Regions from separate parts of the Homo sapiens genome. Here region 1 is linked to region 2. Evidence: promoter capture Hi-C in 16 types of primary human blood cells and fetal thymus (Javierre and others, 2016). All regions are on one chromosome and are shown on one strand. The core of a region is centred on a gene start or on the middle of the fragment in contact, and the rest is flanking DNA. Distances in the headings are between cores, read along the strand shown. Region 1 overlaps LOC105369625 (a long non-coding RNA gene). Region 2 holds the start of CD9 (CD9 molecule).

Region 1 (4,792 bases), core at 179-2,678, 55 kb after region 2:
AATAAATAAATAAAATAAAATGAGGGGCAATTCCTACCAAACAGAGCATATGGAGAGACCCGGTAAATGATGGCCAGCCTTGTCATTATGCTGCTATGATCACGAGGTGCCCTTGGAGACAGCAGGAGGTATGAATGAGGAAACTCGGCACTGGGGCTGGACCCAGAGTGTTGGAGGCGGGTTGCTCAGGCTACTAAGGCAGTTTGGGGTGCACTAGTGAGGAAAGAGCTGGCAGCAGGCCAAAGTCCAGGAATGGGCAGGAAAGGGTACAATTAGAGATCTTGGAGAAAGGACTAAGCACCGGCCGTTGCAACCATCTACAGACTCACTGGGACATGTCTTGAAGATTTTCAAGCCCGGTAAAATTTCTGTATTTGAGCACTACCCCTAGAAAGTCTTGGTAATTTCAGGATTTACGATAAAATCTTTCCAATGACCTGGCCTCTCAGTTTTTTGACCTCCTCACTCACTCCTGTGGCCAAAGGCTTTCAAACTTGTTTGTCCATGACCCAACCATATGTGTGACTCAGTACACACAGGCACCATATAGAAATACACACATCTGGCTGGGCACGGTGGTTCATGCCTATAATCCCAGCACTTTAGGAGGCTGAGGTGGGTGGATCATGAGGTCAGGAGATCGAGACCATCCTGGCTAACACAGTGAAACCCTGTCTCTACTAAAAATACAAAAATATTAGCCGGGCGTGGTGGCGGGTGCCTGTAGTCGCAGCTACTCGGGAGGCTGAGGCAAGAGAATCGCTTGAACCTGGGAAGCGGAGGCTGCAGTAAGCTGAGATCGTGCCACTGCACTCCAGCCTGAACGACAGAGCAAGACTCCATTTCCAAAAAACAAAACAAACAAACAAAAACAAAAACAAAAAATCCACATCTACATATATAAAATTGAAATGAAAGTTTTATGATATGATACATATCCTTGCTGCATGCAATGTGCTCTGCTATTTTCTATTCTATTCTATTCTATTTCATTTTTATAGATGCTGGTTTTAACCCACTAACTTAATTTTATGATCCACTAATGGGCTGTGTCTCTCAATTTGAAAAACACTGTCCCAGACTTTTTTTTTTACTACTTCACTCCAGTTTTAGAGATTGAGATGTTGATGGGAGCCAGGTGCACTGGTGTACACTACAAAGGTGCACCTGTAGTCCCAGACCCTCAGGAGGCTGAGGCAGGAGGGCCACTTGAACCCAGGGGTTTGAGACCCCATCTCTACATTTAAACTTTTTAAATTTTTTAAATGTTGAGGAGAAACCAGCAATGAAGACTGAGATGAAGTAGCCAATAAAGTAGAAAAAAGAGACCCTTCATTAGCTCAATCCAAGCATCACAGTCTCCAATCCCTTTCTGTCATTCGAACTCACTCCAGTCCTACCCTACCCAAAACCTCTCATCCACTGACCTTACCACCTTCTCCTTGTCTCTCACATCCTCCTGATGTCACTTCCCCTTTATCTGATTTAGATTACATAGGGCATAATAATCTATTACTTGGGCTGGGTGCGGTGGCTCACGCCTATAATCCTAGCACTTTGGGAGGCCAAGGCTGGTGGATCACCTGAGATCAGGAGTTCTAGACCAGCCTGGCCAACATGGTGAAACTCTGTCTCTACTAAAACTACAAAAATTAGCTGGGCTTGGTGGCAGGCGTCTGTAATCCCAGCTATTCAGGAGGCTGAGGCAGGAGAATCGCTTGAACCCGGGAGGCCGAGGTTGCAGTGAGCCAAGATCGTGCCACTGCACTCCAGCCTGGGGGACAAGAGCAAGACTTCATCTCAAATAATAATAATAATAATAATAATAATAATAATAATAATAACAATCCATTACTTGATTTGTTTAATAAATAGTTACTGGCCAGGTGCGGTGGCTCACGCCTATAATCCCAGCACTTTGGGAGACCAAGGTGGACGGATCGCATGAGGTCAGGAGTTCAAGACCAGCCTGGCCAACATGGCGAAACCCCGTCTCTACTAAAAGTACAAAAAAATTAGCTGGGTGTGGTGGTGGGCGCCTGTAATCTCAGCTACTAGGGAGGCTGGGGTAGGAGAATCGCTTGAACCCGGGAGGTGGAGGTTGCAGTGAGCGGTGATCGCGCCATTGCATTCCAGCCTGGGTGATAGAGTGAAACTCTGTCTCAAAAAACAAACAAAAAAAATAGTTACTGAGGGCTCACTCTGTGCCAAGCACTGTTCTAAGGTACTGAAGATACAGGAGTGAACAAAACAAAAGACTGGCCTGTGAACATGTTTTTATTGGGGGGAAACAGACAATAAGAAAATAAACAAGGGCCAGGCGCAGTGGCTCACGCTTGTAATCCCAGCACTTTGGGAGGCCAAGGCGGTCAGATCACCTGAGGTCGGGAGTTTGAGACCAGCCTGACCAACATGGAGAAACTCCGTCTCTACTAAAAACACAAAAGTAGCCGGGTGTGGTGGTGCATGCCTGTAATCTCAGCTACTCGGGAGGCTGAGGCAGAAGAATTGCTTAAACCCAGGAGCTGGAGGTTGCGGTGAGCCGAGATCGCGCCATTGTACTCCAGCCTGGGCAACAAGAGCAAAACTCCGTCTCAAAAAAAAAAAAAAATGAAGAAGGAAAAAAGGAAAATAAACAAGAACATTTAAACTATTTCAGCGTACAGGCATACCTCAGAGAACATTGCAGGTTCGGTTCCAGATCACTGCATTAAAATAAATATTGCAATAAAGTGAGTCACACAAAGTTTTGGTTTCCCAGTGCATATAAAAATTATGTTTATACTACACAGTAGTCTATTAAATGTGCAATGGCATTATGTCTAAAAAATATGTACATATCTTAATTTAAAAATACTTTATTGCTAAAAAAAATTATGCTAACAATCATCTGATCCTTCAGCAAGTCATATCTTTCTGCCTTAATGGATGGCTGCTGACTGACCGGAATGATGGTTGCTGAAGTTTGGGGTGGCTATGGCAATTTCTTCAAATAAGGCAACATGAAGTTTTCTGCATTGATTGACTCTTCCTTTCATAAAATATTTCTTTGTAGCCTGCAATGGTATTTGGTAGCATTTTACCCATAATAGAACTTCTTTCAAAATTGGAGTCAGTCCTTTCAAACCCTGCCACTGTTTTATCAACTAAGTTTGTGTCATATGCTAAATTCTTTGTTGTCATTTTCACAGAAGTAGATTCCGTCTCAAGAAACCACTTTCTTTGCTCATCCATAGGAAGCAACTCCTCATCTATTAGTTTAGTGCAAAAGTAATTGTGGTTTTGCCATTACTTTGAATGGTTTACTAAATATTAATATTAAAGTTTTCTCATGAGATTGCAGCAATTCAGTCACATATTCAGGCTTCACTTCTAATTCTAGTTCTCTTGCTATTTCCAATACATCTACAGTTTCTTCCTCCACTGAAGTCTCGAACCCCTCAAAGACATCTATGAGGGTTGGAGTCAACTTCTTCCAAACTTCTGTTAATGTTGCTATTTTGACCTCCCCCCATGAATCACGAATGTTCTTAATGGCATCTAGGATGGTGAATCCTTTCCAGAAGGTTTTCAGTTTACTTTGCCCAGATTCATCACAGAAATCACTATCTATGGCAGCTATAGCTTTGTAAGATGTATTTCTTAAATAATAAGACTTCAAAGTCAAAATTACTCCTTGATCCATGGGCTGCAGAATCAATGTGTTAGCAGGCATGAAAACAGCATTAATCTCCTTGTATGTCTTCATCACATCTCTTGGGTGACAAAGTGCCTGTCCATGAGCAATAATATTTTGAAATAAATATTTTTTTCTAAGCAGTAGGTCTCAACAGAAGGCTTAAAATGTTCAGTAAACCATAGTATAATGGTTAACAGACATGCTGTTATCCAGGATTCATTGTTCCATTTATAGAGCACAGCAGAGTAGATTTAGCACAATTCTTAAGGGCCCTGTAATTTTAGGAATTGTCAATGAGCATTGGTTTCAACTTAAAGTCACCAGCTGCCTTAGCCCTTAGCAAGAGAGTCATCCTTTCCTTTGAAGTTTTGAAGCCAGGTGTTGACTTCTCCTCTCTAGCCAAGAAAGTCCTAGATGGCATCTTCTCCCAGTAGATACCTGTTTTGTTTACATTTAAAACCTGTTGTTTAGTGTTGCCACCTCATCAGTTATCTTAGCAAGATCTTCTGGATAACTTGCAGCTTCTACATCAGTACTTGTTACTTTATGTTGTATTTTTAGGTTACAGAGATGGCTTATTTCCTTAAACTTCATGAACCAAACTCTGCTAGCTTCTAACTTTTCTGCAGCTTCCTTACCTTACTCAGCCTCACTGAATTTAATCAAAGAGAGTTGGAGCCTTGTATGGATTAGGCTTTGGTTTAAGGAAATGTAGCTGATTTGATCTTCTATCCAGACCACTCAAACTTTCTCCTTATCAGCAATAGGTTGTGTTGCTTTCTTATCATCTGTGTATTTACTGGAGTAGCACATTTAATTTCCCTCAAGAACTTTTATTTTTAATACACTAATTGGCTGTTTGGCACAACAGGCCTAGCTTTCAGCCTTCTTCGCTAAGCTTAATCGTTTCTGGCTTTTGATTTAAAGTGTGAAACGTGTGACTCTTCCTTTCACTTGAACACTGAGAGGCCACTGTAGGGTTATTAATGGGCTTCATTTCAATATTGTTGTGTTTTAGGGGCTAGGGAGGCCAGAGGAGAGGAAGAGAGATAGGGAAATGGAGGGTCAGGTCAGTGGAGCAGTCAGAACGCACACAACATTTATTGATTAAGT
Region 2 (5,086 bases), core at 401-2,900:
GCACAAGGCTCTTTCTCACCTTCCCACAAACTACCCCGTGACTCCAGGCTCCAGCCCAGAGCCCGGACAGCCCCTGCCCCAGCCTTTGCCCAGGATTCTCCCTTGGCGGCAACTTTCCCTGTGGTTCTGCAGCATCATCTCCCAGTCTGGGTCAGAGGCCTCTCCTTAGCCTCTTAGCCCCCAAGCCTCTCCCCGTAACTGCACCTATCACCCTCAAACCATTGTCTGGCTGCCTGTCTCCTCCCACACTGGTCCCTGAGCAGAAACAAGGACTAATCCATGTTTTTCAGCTCCTACCCCTAATGAAATACCCTAATAGATACTGAAAAATGTTTTTGAACCAATGAGACAAGTCTACTGATAATAAACAGGCAAATAACAGCAATGTGCTAACAGTGGCTGTTTCTGGTGAGCAGAATTTTGAGGTCTGTTCCTTTCACTTCTTGGTATTTCGGTTGTTTCTGTAATGACTGTATCTTGCTTTTGTAATCATAAAGGACAGTAAAGGAAACTTCATTTTGAAAATAATACAAAGGGATTCGGGGACTTCAAAAGAAGGTGACTCTCCTCGTCCACTCCAGAGAATCAGGAAAGGAGTGTTTAAAGACCCACAGAATTCCTACAAGTGACGTTGGGGGGGGGCCAGCCAGCCAGGGCGCATGCCGGCCAGCGAGTGGGGTGGGCTCTGGGTCCGGGAGAAGTCAGATCAGTGCTCTGTACAGGGCCTTGAGGGCAAGACGAGGAATTTCGACTTAGGTCCTTGAATCTGGAGAGCTACAGAAAGTTTGTGAGCTCAGGAGAAGCGCTCCGAGCTCGGCATCTGGAGCAGTTCAAGGCAGCAGCGAGCAAGTCCAAAGACGCAGGAGGGAGGGTGGGGTGGAGGAGTAGAGAGAAAACAGAAGCCGTCTACAGACCCTTTTTCCCTCTGGGGCAACTAAACCTCAAGTGCAGGAAGCGCTTGGGGACTGCCCAGCCCTCAGCTGTGTTATTATTCGGTGATAGGTATTTGCTAATTACTTCCAAAAGCCTCCCATCTGTCATCCCACCCAGACTGCGCGCTTCTAATTCCTCCTACCCCACATGCTGTGCCCAATGAAAAGTATGGTCAGCGAGCGAAGGTTTGCAAGGAGACAGACGAGGGCGAAATTAAGCCAGGCGGCTTCCCTTTAAATCCTCGCAAAGCAGAAGGGCCCCTCACTCTGGCAGCAGGCCTTGGCCAAGGGGCCTTTAGCCCTGACGACCCGGGGAAGAGTCTCCCAAAGCAGAACGCCCGGTCCGGCGCCCAGACCAAACGCGGGGGAACCGGAAGGGCGAGGCCTCCACGTAAGTCCGCGGTAAAAGTGGCAGGGAGTGGCTGCCTGCAAAGACCCCAAGACGGCTTGAAGAAGGAGTGGGTGGCGGGTGGGGGTTAGGGCGACTAGGCGGGGAAACAGGGAGAGGGTCGGGCTCCGCGGGGCAGCTGGGGCCGGGGCTCGCCGACCTGGGCGGGGGCGGGGGGCGGGGGGGGTGCGGCCCGGGCGGGGCCGGTGGGGCGGGAGGCGTGGCCGGCGGGGGGAGTGGGGGCGGCTTTTCCCGGCACATGCGCACCGCAGCGGGTCGCGCGCCCTAAGGAGTGGCACTTTTTAAAAGTGCAGCCGGAGACCAGCCTACAGCCGCCTGCATCTGTATCCAGCGCCAGGTCCCGCCAGTCCCAGCTGCGCGCGCCCCCCAGTCCCGCACCCGTTCGGCCCAGGCTAAGTTAGCCCTCACCATGCCGGTCAAAGGAGGCACCAAGTGCATCAAATACCTGCTGTTCGGATTTAACTTCATCTTCTGGGTGAGTGAGCGCGACTGCCGCGCGCTCCTCTCAGGGCCCACCTGTTCGCGGGCCCCGGACACTGGCCGCGGCCGCGAGTGCCGGCAGCTGGCACTGCCCGCACCGGGCAGGCACCGGGCGGGAAGAGAGAGCGCCCTGCGGCTGCCAGCTGGCTCCAAGGCCGGGTCCAGAGCCGGGCGGGACGGCCGCGACGGGCGCATTCGGGTGGGGGCTCATCACCGCCCAGCCGGCGTGGGGAGCCGGGCCCTCTTGAGATGAGGCGTGCGGGAGGGTCCTGAGCACTTTAGCTCGCCTAGGATTTGAGCTGGGGTGTGTGTCTGCTCCCAGCTCAAGTCCCTCCGAGTGCCAGAGAGGAAGGCAGGGAGAAGCGGAGCACCCCTCTTTGGGCCAAGGCCAAGGAGGACTGTGGTGAGCAGTATGGCTTGTGACCGGGTGGGGTCTCCCAGGTAGTAGGGGGCGCCAGGAAGGGAGGGTGCGGGCACGGCGAGAGCTCAGCCAAGAGCGGCTCTCACTTTTACGCAGGAGCGGCAGGGGTGCCTCGGCCGCGGGTCCGGCCCCGGGACCCAGTCCCTGAGAGTCGGGGGCCCCTCCACCCTTGAGGAGGAACCTCGCAGGCCCCCGTTCCCTCAGACTTTGATTCTGAGCCACCGTGAGAGCGCCGAACTCCCTGGTAGCTCCCTGAAAGACTAGCTTGTCTTGATTTCTTTCAAGGACGATAAGTATCTTCACTGGAGAGAACTCAGAGTTCGGGAGAGGAGGGGGCAGATACCTATCTGCGCCTCTAGTGGGATGAGTCCTGTGTGTGCATTTCCGGGAGAGATCAGGTGCCAGCCAGCTGCCCGCCCAGGAGAGCCTTGGCCTTGCCCTCTCCCCTCCCCGCCAGCCCAGGCGGCCCACCCAAGGCCAGGCAGGGCGCAGAGCGGACGTTCATCTGGAGAGGCCAGCGGGGCCAGGAGCTCCAGAGACACCTGCTGCAGGCCACTCAGCCTCTACAAATGGGAAGGCTGAGAGGCGACAGAAGCAAGGAATAGGAAACCCTTGTGTCCTTGTTTCTATAGCCACATTCCCTGCACACACATGACAATACTTGCCGCTCTGCAGGCAGGAAGAGAGTCTCTATGCCACTCTCAAGATAGATGGATGTAGAAACAGGTGCATGCCACCAGAGTCTTGTAACAAAAAAGTGCACTTGGCCAGGCACAGTGGCTCATGCCTGTAATCCCAGCACTTTGGGAGGCTGAGGCAGGAGGATCGCTTTCATCCAGGTTCAAGACCAGCCTGGGTAACATAGTGAGACCCCCATCTCCACAAAAAAATAAAAAATTAGCTGGGCGTGTTGGCATGCACCTGTGATCGCAGCTACTCAGGAGGCTGAGATGAGAGGATGGCATGAGCCTGGGAGGTCAAGGCTGCGGTGAGTCATGATTGCACCACTGCACTTAGCCTGGGTGACCTAGTGAGCCCTGTCTCAAAAAAAGTAGAAAAGAAACAAATGCACTTATTCCCCCTGGAGCTGGTCACTGAGGTCCCCACAAGCCTCCTTAGGGAAATCTTCTAAGATTCACTCCTCCCCAGAGCTGAAGGGGTGGTTGAACAGTTTTTCCAATTTGCAGAGACTGACTTCCCCCAGTGCATCAGTCACCATAACACACACCCCAGTGAGGACGGCATATAGGTGTGCTCCTTCCCAACCCTTGACTTGCTTTAAAAAGACCCTGCTGGCCGTGGGCACCCCTCCTCCTGTGTTGCCACCCACCCCAGCAACCACCCAGCTGCCACGCTTAGCTTCTTTCTTTCACCAATCCCTGGCAGCAGAAAAGTATGCGGGAAGGCAGCTGGCCTCACCCACCCTTGAACTTTGGGAGTTTTCCTCTCCCCTCCCAGGTACAGTCTCTCCCGGCTGGTGTGTTGGTTAGTCCTCAGCTGTCTGCCTAGACTGCATCCAGGTTTGGGACTGCAGGGAAACACAGACTGCCACAGTGTGCCTCCCTACCCCCATCTGCCCCATGGCATATGCAGGAAGCTGATGCGAGGCTCACAGGGCCACTGGTATCTACTCTGTCTGTGGCCTGCTGGCCTGCAATCTGTCCGTACTGTCCTCAGCCTGCCACCCCACTCGTATTCAGAACCCCCTATGCCTGGCCCCAGCCTAGGTGCAGCTGATGACCTATGTAGTCTGAAACAGAAATCACTCACACTGGAAATGTTTGGAATGACTTTTGAAGATCATGCAGTCCAGCTCTCTTATTCATAGTGAGGCAGCAGAGGAAGAGAGATGGGGTGATTTACCCAGGATCGCAGAGACAGAGCCAGTATTACAATTCCTGGGGCCCCTACTTTACTTCTGTCCTCTTCCATCTTCATCAGAGGCAGGAAGATGGGCAGTAGCTATGTTTTCCTGAATTACTGTTCATTTGTCCTGTATCTGGGTCCCTGTGGAGATGAAGCCCTCATCCCTAGGAGATGATGTAATGAAAAGGAAGACTGTGGTCGGTCCACTTGTGCAGAGTGTTAGTCTTTAGAGCCTTTCTTGTTCTAGTCCCATGATGTAGCCAAGAGCAGGAAGCATTGTCCCCACTGTACTGATGATCAGGAAACCATTTCCCAGAGAGGTTAGGTGACTTATCCAAGGTGATGCGGCAGGGTGGTCTCAGAACTAGGTTACTTTACCCAACTGGTTTTGGCTGCTGAGTGGGAATGGGAGAAGGGTGGGAAGAAGCTCCCAAGACTCCCTTAAGGAAAGGTGTAACCTAAGGGAACTGCTTGGGTGATTATGTTGTCACCACGTCCGTTTCTCTCTTGAGACCAGACATTTATAAACTTGGCATTCGGAACCTGATGTGGGCCTTGAAAAGCAGGAATTGTGAGGCCAGTGCCCAGCAGCACTTTGCACAGAGGCTGCTGAGAGGGGGTGTCCAACAGGCATCCAGAGAGAGGCCAACCTCAGTGGAGTAGGATGGTTATTGGGGGGCTGTGCCTCTTCCCTGGCCTGATCTCATCCCTGTGGGTCACTCCCTGATGGCCACAGCCAAACCAGCAAATCAGTCTGTTCTTCCACCACCTCCAGAACCGGCCCTCCTAGCTCTATTTTGATTGTTTCTACATTTCCTTCAGACCTCCCTGCCCGCCTGCCCACCCCCCAAAAAACAGTTGAGAGGGAAAACATCTTGCTGATGTCCATGTGGTAGACACACAAGTATTTCTCCAGCTGAAATGGGGAACCAGGGTTAGGGCCAGTCCAGTCTGACACATGCATGTCTGCCCTCTTTC

What was found. Contacts are between HindIII fragments. The CHiCAGO score rates a contact against its expected background, and 5 or more counts as called.
Region 1: a fragment that was not itself captured here is called in contact with the fragment with the promoter of CD9 in region 2 in 1 of 17 cell types (monocytes); the score reaches 5.5 in monocytes.

What each region holds. Positions count from the first base shown.
Region 1 is chr12:6,254,471-6,259,262 of GRCh38, forward strand. The region is part of intron 2 of LOC105369625 (a long non-coding RNA gene); the gene reads right to left. Among named protein-coding and RNA genes, the nearest start is that of PLEKHG6, 54 kb to the right of the region's middle. The HindIII fragment of the contact is 6,294 bases long and covers 1-4,575 here.
Region 2 is chr12:6,198,750-6,203,835 of GRCh38, forward strand. CD9 (CD9 molecule) reads left to right here and starts at 1,651. Exons shown (of 8, transcript NM_001769.4): 1 at 1,651-1,816. The coding sequence starts at 1,751. RefSeq lists enhancers at 523-1,135, 1,136-1,747, 2,974-3,586, 3,587-4,198. The HindIII fragment of the contact is 13,626 bases long and covers 1-5,086 here.